Regions from separate parts of the Homo sapiens genome. Here region 2 is linked to region 1. Evidence: promoter capture Hi-C in 16 types of primary human blood cells and fetal thymus (Javierre and others, 2016). All regions are on one chromosome and are shown on one strand. The core of a region is centred on a gene start or on the middle of the fragment in contact, and the rest is flanking DNA. Distances in the headings are between cores, read along the strand shown. Region 1 holds the start of AMER3 (APC membrane recruitment protein 3). Region 2 overlaps ARHGEF4 (Rho guanine nucleotide exchange factor 4).

What was found. Contacts are between HindIII fragments. The CHiCAGO score rates a contact against its expected background, and 5 or more counts as called.
Region 2: a contact is called between a fragment that was not itself captured here and the fragment with the promoter of AMER3 in region 1, in 1 of 17 cell types (activated CD4 T cells). The highest score is 5.7, in activated CD4 T cells.

What each region holds. Positions count from the first base shown.
Region 1 is chr2:130,753,763-130,757,045 of GRCh38, reverse strand. It overlaps AMER3 (APC membrane recruitment protein 3), which reads right to left and starts at 1,506. Exons shown (of 2, transcript NM_152698.3): 1 at 1,372-1,506. LOC124907890 (a long non-coding RNA gene) reads left to right here and starts at 1,164. Exons shown (of 2, transcript XR_007087239.1): 1 at 1,164-1,363. RefSeq lists enhancers at 1-352, 1,231-1,730. The HindIII fragment of the contact is 12,260 bases long and covers 1-3,283 here.
Region 2 is chr2:131,018,829-131,021,962 of GRCh38, reverse strand. All of the region lies in intron 4 of ARHGEF4 (Rho guanine nucleotide exchange factor 4), which reads right to left. Among named protein-coding and RNA genes, the nearest start is that of SMIM39, 15 kb to the left of the region's middle. The HindIII fragment of the contact is 3,953 bases long and covers 1-3,134 here.

The DNA.
Region 1 (3,283 bases), core at 257-2,756:
AATAGTTTTGGTATTTTCTATGCCTTCCCCGGTATGCAGGAAAGTCACAGCAGTGTGATACAAAGGAGTGTATGGTGATAAAAAAGCGCAGGCCCAGGGACCTCTGGAAACTGGGCTGGCGGTAGAGCTATGGGGCAATAGCGTTCTCAGTAGTAGGCTGCCTTGTCATGGGAGGGCTGGAGTGAGGGCCACTGTGCGGAGGGAAAGCGACCGTGCTCTGGGGTGGGGGTGGGAATGGGGAATAAAACAGAAATAGAATCTGCGGTGAGAGCACCACCAAGCCACCCAACCCCCACACTGGGGAGACAAAGGGCCCTCTGGGGAGGGAAGGTCCTGGCCCACCTCCTTGGAGGGCGCCTCTGGGCGGTCCTGGCCTGCCCAGGGGCAAGGAGATGGGCCTCACAGCGATATTGGCTCTCCCTCAGCTCCTGCATCCGCCGGCGGAGGGTTTCTCCGCTTCCCTAGCCCAGACCTAAAAGGGTCACCGCTCCCAGGCCCCTGACTGCGCCGGGAACCGCTGGGTGGAGGGTGTCGACCCTGCTTCCTGCCCTCAGCCCGTCCATCGCGCCAGAGAATGCACCAAATTCCCCAATCCTTGCCCTCCCCGGGGGTCCACATCCGCGGGGCAGGACCAACGCAGCCTCTCGGGGCCTTGGCGACTTACCGCTGGGGGCCCGCAGTGCAGCAGGGCGCGGCCGCGACAGGCTCGGGCACCGCGTCGGAGCGCGAGCCGCGCTCAGCACCACGGTCAGCTCCCGGCGCCGCGCGCCGCGGCCGGGAGGGGGAGGCCCGGCGCCCGCACCCACCCACCGCGGCTCCAGGGGCCCCGCGGGGTCGGGCAGGCGAGGGTTAAGCCGCCAGAGGCCAGCGGGAGGGGCGGGCCGGCGCTGGCGCGCAGGGGTGGCGAGGGGGCGCGCCGGCCGCGGTGGGGGCTGCTCCGCCAGGCTGCCGCCTCCCTGCGCCGCCGCTCGGGCCGCGCTCGAGCCGGCTTTGTCTGTTCGTATCGCCCCGTCTCTGTTTCTGGGTGTCTCTGCCTCCCACCCGGTTGCGGCTGCGCCTCCCTCAGGTGCAGTCGTCTCCCCTCGCCCCCGTGCGCACGGCGCCCCCGCCGCTGTCCCCTCTTCCGGGAGCGCACAGGTGTGGGAGCCCCTCCCCCTCAGCCCAGAGAGCCAGCCCAGCCCTGCCGACCGCAGCACTCTCGGAAGGGCTCGGCCACCCGGAGCCTCGTCACGAGTCTTACCCAGGGTTCGGAGCGGGCCTGCAAGAAGGGGCAGGCCAGGCTGGGGCTGCAAGGCAGGGTCTTCCCTTGGAGAAGGGACCTGACTCTATTATTAAGAGAACGAAAGAGGCACTTGCCCTACAGGTACTCACTGTGTGGGGTCTACTGGTGCTGTGCTCTGCCGCAGTCTTGAGGGAGGAGCAGAAATGCTGTGGGGACTCTGTCTCCGCAGAACTGAGGACGAGGGGTCTGCACGCGTGGTTCAGTGCCTGGGGCTGGGGTGGATTAAGTAACTCCAGGAAGGCTCAGGCAGCAGTGCCAGTAGTGTGGGGCGGGGTTGTGGGGAGGAGGGGGGAGCGGGAGCGCACAGTCGGTGCTGGGGAGAGGCTGATGCCAACAGGAGGCTCTCGGCCGTGGTGTGCCCAGGCGGGGCAGGACGGGAGGATGCAGGAGTCCCGGGTCCACGCTGAGGCTAAGGCTGAAGGGAAGGCAGAGCTCAGGTGGATGACGGAGGCCAGGCCTTTCCCTGAGCTTGGTGGGCTCCCTCCCGGTCACCTTGTCTGAGAACCCAGGACACAGAGTCCCCTTGCTTTGGACTGGTTTGGTTTGTCATTCCCCTTGACATCGCCTCGCCCCAGAGACAAGAGGCCCCTTCATCCTCCAGCCAAGACCTTCCCCACCCTTGGGTGACCTACCCTCTTGCATTTTTTAGATTTGAGCCCTCTTTCTATGCAGCGACTAACTCAACGTGACCCCAGAGGCCCCCTCGCCCATGTTGCTGGTAGTCTTGACCTTTTTTGGCAGATCCTGGCTGTGGGAGTTCCCTGTCTTTCTCTTAGGTAGGACAGAAGGCAGTTTCTGCCTCGTTGCCACATACACCCCAAGTCAGGGGTAGGACTCCCGCAGACCCCACAGTCCTCCTCTTGTTAAAATTAGTAAGCATTAGCCTTCCTTATTAGGCTCTCCCCGCTTTTGCATTTAAGGATTTTTTAATGTGTCTTATAAAATCATGTAATTGTGAGGATAATTACAGATTCAGCTTCTTCCAGTGAGTGACAATTGCTCATTTTCGATGCTCACATGGTCATCGTTCGGCCACTGCAAACTGTTCCAACCCTTCTACTTTGTCATTTCAGACAGTTTTCAAACACCCCTAACTTTTGGGTAACATGAAAATATATATTTCAAATTTTTTATTTCCCCAAGATGTGGGATCAGGTCTTCCCCAGGGACTCCTGGAAAAATCTTTTACACTAGGCTACCCAGTTCAGATACCACTGAATGATTTTTCTTAAATATTATTCTAATGTGAACTTACATTTTATTTTTACAATACACTGACTTACACGCCTGTAATCCCAGCACTTTGGGAGGTCCAGACGGGCGGATCACAAGGTCAGGAGATCAAGACCATCCTGGCTAACATGGCAAAACCCCCTCTCTACTAAAAGTACAAAAAAAATTAGCCAGGCATGGTGGTGGGCGCCTGTAGTCCCAGCTACTCAGGAGGCTGAGGCAGGAGAATGGCGTGAACCCAGGAGGTGGAGCTTGCAGTGAGCCGAGATTGTGCCACTGCACTCCAGCCTGGGTGACAGAGCGAGACTCTGTCTCAAAAAAAAAAAAAAAACAAACAAAAAAACACACACAAAACACTGACTTAGATTTCTCATCTGTGTTTTTGAGCAGTGGCTGTAAACCTTTTCTTTCCTGGAACTAGCTTTCTGGTCACTTGGTTGTCCCCAGGGTCTCAGACCTTCTGGCCACACCACCCCTTGCTTTCTTGGCAGGCCAAAGAGTTGACTGTGGGCACAAATGAGTCGGCCATCCACTGTGCCAGTCACGTCAGCTGCATTTGTGGGGTACCATCAGACCTACTGCTTTGAGCTGTTTCTTTTTCTTTTAAAATTTTCAATATTTAAAAACTTTTTTATTTCATATTTCCAAACAGTGAACAGTTGGTTTCTTTTTCTTAAAAAAATTTTTATCTTATTTTTTGAGATGGAGTTTCACTCTTCTTGCCCAGGCTGGAGTTCAATGGTGTGATCTTGGCTCACTGCAACCTCC
Region 2 (3,134 bases), core at 50-2,549, 270 kb before region 1:
AGCAAATCAATATAATACACTAAATTAACAGAATGAAGGAAAAATACATGATTATCTCAATCTATGCAGAAAAAGCATTGACCAAGTTTTTACGATAAAACATTCAATAAACTAGAAATAGAAGGAAAAGTCCTCAATGTGATAAAGGCCACATATGAAAATCTCACAGCCAACATCATACTCAGCGATGGAAGACGGAAAGCTGTATCACTAAGATGAGGAACGAGACAAGGATGCCTGCTTTCTCCACTTCTATTCAACATAGTACTGTAAGTCCTGGTGAGACCAGTCAAGAAAAAGAAATAAAGAAGCTCTTTAGTTTAATTAGATCCCATTTGTCAATTTTGGCTTTTGTTGCCATTGCTTTTGGTGTTTTAGTCATGAAGTCCTTGCCCATGCCTATGTCCTGAATGGTAATGCCTAGGTTTTCTTCTAGGGTTTTTATGGTTTTAAGTCTAACATTTAAGTCTTTAATCCATCTTGAATTAATTTTTGTATAAGGTGTAAGGAAGGGATCCAGTTTCAGCTTTCTACATATGGCTAGCCAGTTTTCCCAGCACCATTTATTAAATGGGGAATCCTTTCCCCATTTCTTGTTTTTGTCAGGTTTGTCAAAGATCAGATAGTTGTAGATATGGGGCATTATTTCTGAGGGCTCTGTTCTGTTCCATTGGTCTATATCTCTGTTTTGGTACCAATACCATGCTGTTTTGGTTACTGTAGCCTTGTAGTATAGTTTGAAGTCAGGTAGCATGATGCCTCCTGCTTTGTTCTTTTGGCTTAGGATTCTGCACAGCAAAAGAAACTACCATCAGAGTGAACAGGCAACCTACAGAATGGGAGAACATTTTTGCAACCTACTTATCTGACAAAGGGCTAATATCCAGAATCTACAATGAACTCAAACAAATTTACAAGAAAAAAAACAACCCCATCAAAAAGTGGGCAGAGGATATGAACAGACACTTCTCAAACGAAGACATTTATGCAGCCAAAAGACACATGAAAAAATGCTCATCATCACTGGCCATCAGAGAAATGCAAATCAAAACAATGAGATACCATCTCACACCAGTTAGAATGGCGATCATTAAAAAGTCAGGAAACAACAGGTGCTGGAGAGGATGTGGAGAAATAGGAACACTTTTACACTGTTGGTGGGACTGTAAACTAGTTTAACCATTGTGGAAGTCAGTGTGGCGATTCCTCAGGGATCTAGAACTAGAAATACCATTTGACCCAGCCATCCCATTACTGGGTATATACTCAAAGGATTATAAAACATGCTGCTATAAAGACACATGCACAGGTAAGTTTATTGCAGCACTATTCACAATAGCAAAGACTTGGAACCAACCCAAATGTCCAACAACGACAGACTGGATTAAGAAAATGTGGCACATATACACCATGAAATACTATGCATCCATAAAAAAGGATGAGTTCATGTCCTTTGTAAAGGGACATGGATGAAGCTGGAAACCATCATTCTCAGCAAACTATCGCAAGGACAAAAAACCGAACACCGCATATTCTCACTCATAGGTGGGAATTGAACAATGAGAACACATGGACACAGGAAGGGGAACATCACACACTGGGGCCTGTTGTGGGGTGGGGGGAGGGGGGAGGGATAGCATTAGGAGATATACCTAATGTTAAATGAAGAGTTAATGGGTGCAGCACACCAACATGGCACATGTATACATATGTAACAAACCTGCACATTGTGCACATGTACCCTAAAACTTAAAGTATAATAAATAAAATAAAATAAAGAAAAAGAATAAAGGACATCCACATTGAAAAGGAAAAATAAAATTATCTGTTTGCAGATGACATCTTCTTACATGTAGCATACCTTAAAGAATCCACAATAAAATTATTAAAGCTACTAAAATTCAGCAAGGCTACAGAATATAAATTAACACACAAAAATCAGTTTTATTTCTGTATATTTGCAATGAGTAATCTGAAAAGGAAACTTTTGAAAATTTCATTACAATAGCATTAAAAAGAATAAAATACTGGCCAGGCATGGTGGCTCACGCCTGTAATCCCAGCACTTTGGGAGGCCGAGGCGGGCGGATCACGAGGTCAGGAAATCGAGACCATCCTGGCTAACACAGTGAAACCCCGTCTTTACTAAAAATACAAAAAAATTAGCCGGCCGTGGTGGCAGGCGCCTGTAGTCCCAGCTATTCAGGAGGCTGAGGCAGGAGAATGGCATGAACCCGGGAGGCGGAGCTTGCAGTGAGCCGAGATCGCGCCACTGCACTCCAGCCTGGGCGACAGAGCGAGACTCCATCTCAAAAAAACAAAAACAAAAACAAAAACCAAAGAATAAAATACTTAGGAATAAACTTAACCAAGGAGGCCAAAGATGTGTAGAATAAAAGCTACAAAACATTGCTGGAAAAAAAAAAAAGCAAAGAAAGACGTCCCATGTTCATAAATTGAAAGTCTTAATATATTTAAGATGACAATACCACCTAAAGCAATCTGTGTATTCAATGCATTCCTATAAAAATCCAATGACTTTTTTTTTTTGAGACAGAGTTTCACTCTTGTTGCCCAGGCTGCAGTGCAATGGCACGATCTCAGCTCACGGCAACCTCCGCCTCCCGGGTTCAAGCGATTCTCATGCCTCAGCCTCCCAGGTAGCTGGGATTACAGGCATGTGACACCACACCGAGATAATCTTGTATTTTTAGTATAGACAGGGTTTCTCCATGTTGGTCAGGCTGGTCTCGAACTCCCAACCTCAGGTGATCCACCCACCTCAGCCTCCCAAAATGCTGAGATTACAGGCATGAGCCACTGCGCCCAGCCCCAGTGGCATTTTTTTACACACATAGAAAAATTCATCATTAAAATTCACATGGAATCTCAAGGGGTCCTGACTAGCCAAAATTATTTTGAAAAAAACAAAGTTGGAGGACCCGCATTTCCTGATTTCAAAACTTACTACAAAGTCACAATAATCAAATAATGTGGAAATGGCATAAGGATAGATATATAGACCAATAGAACTGAATAGAGGATCCAGAAATAAACCCTCCCATATGTGGTCAATTGATTTTCGACAAAGGTGCTAACACTGTGAGGGAAAAGACAGTCTTTACAGCGAACAG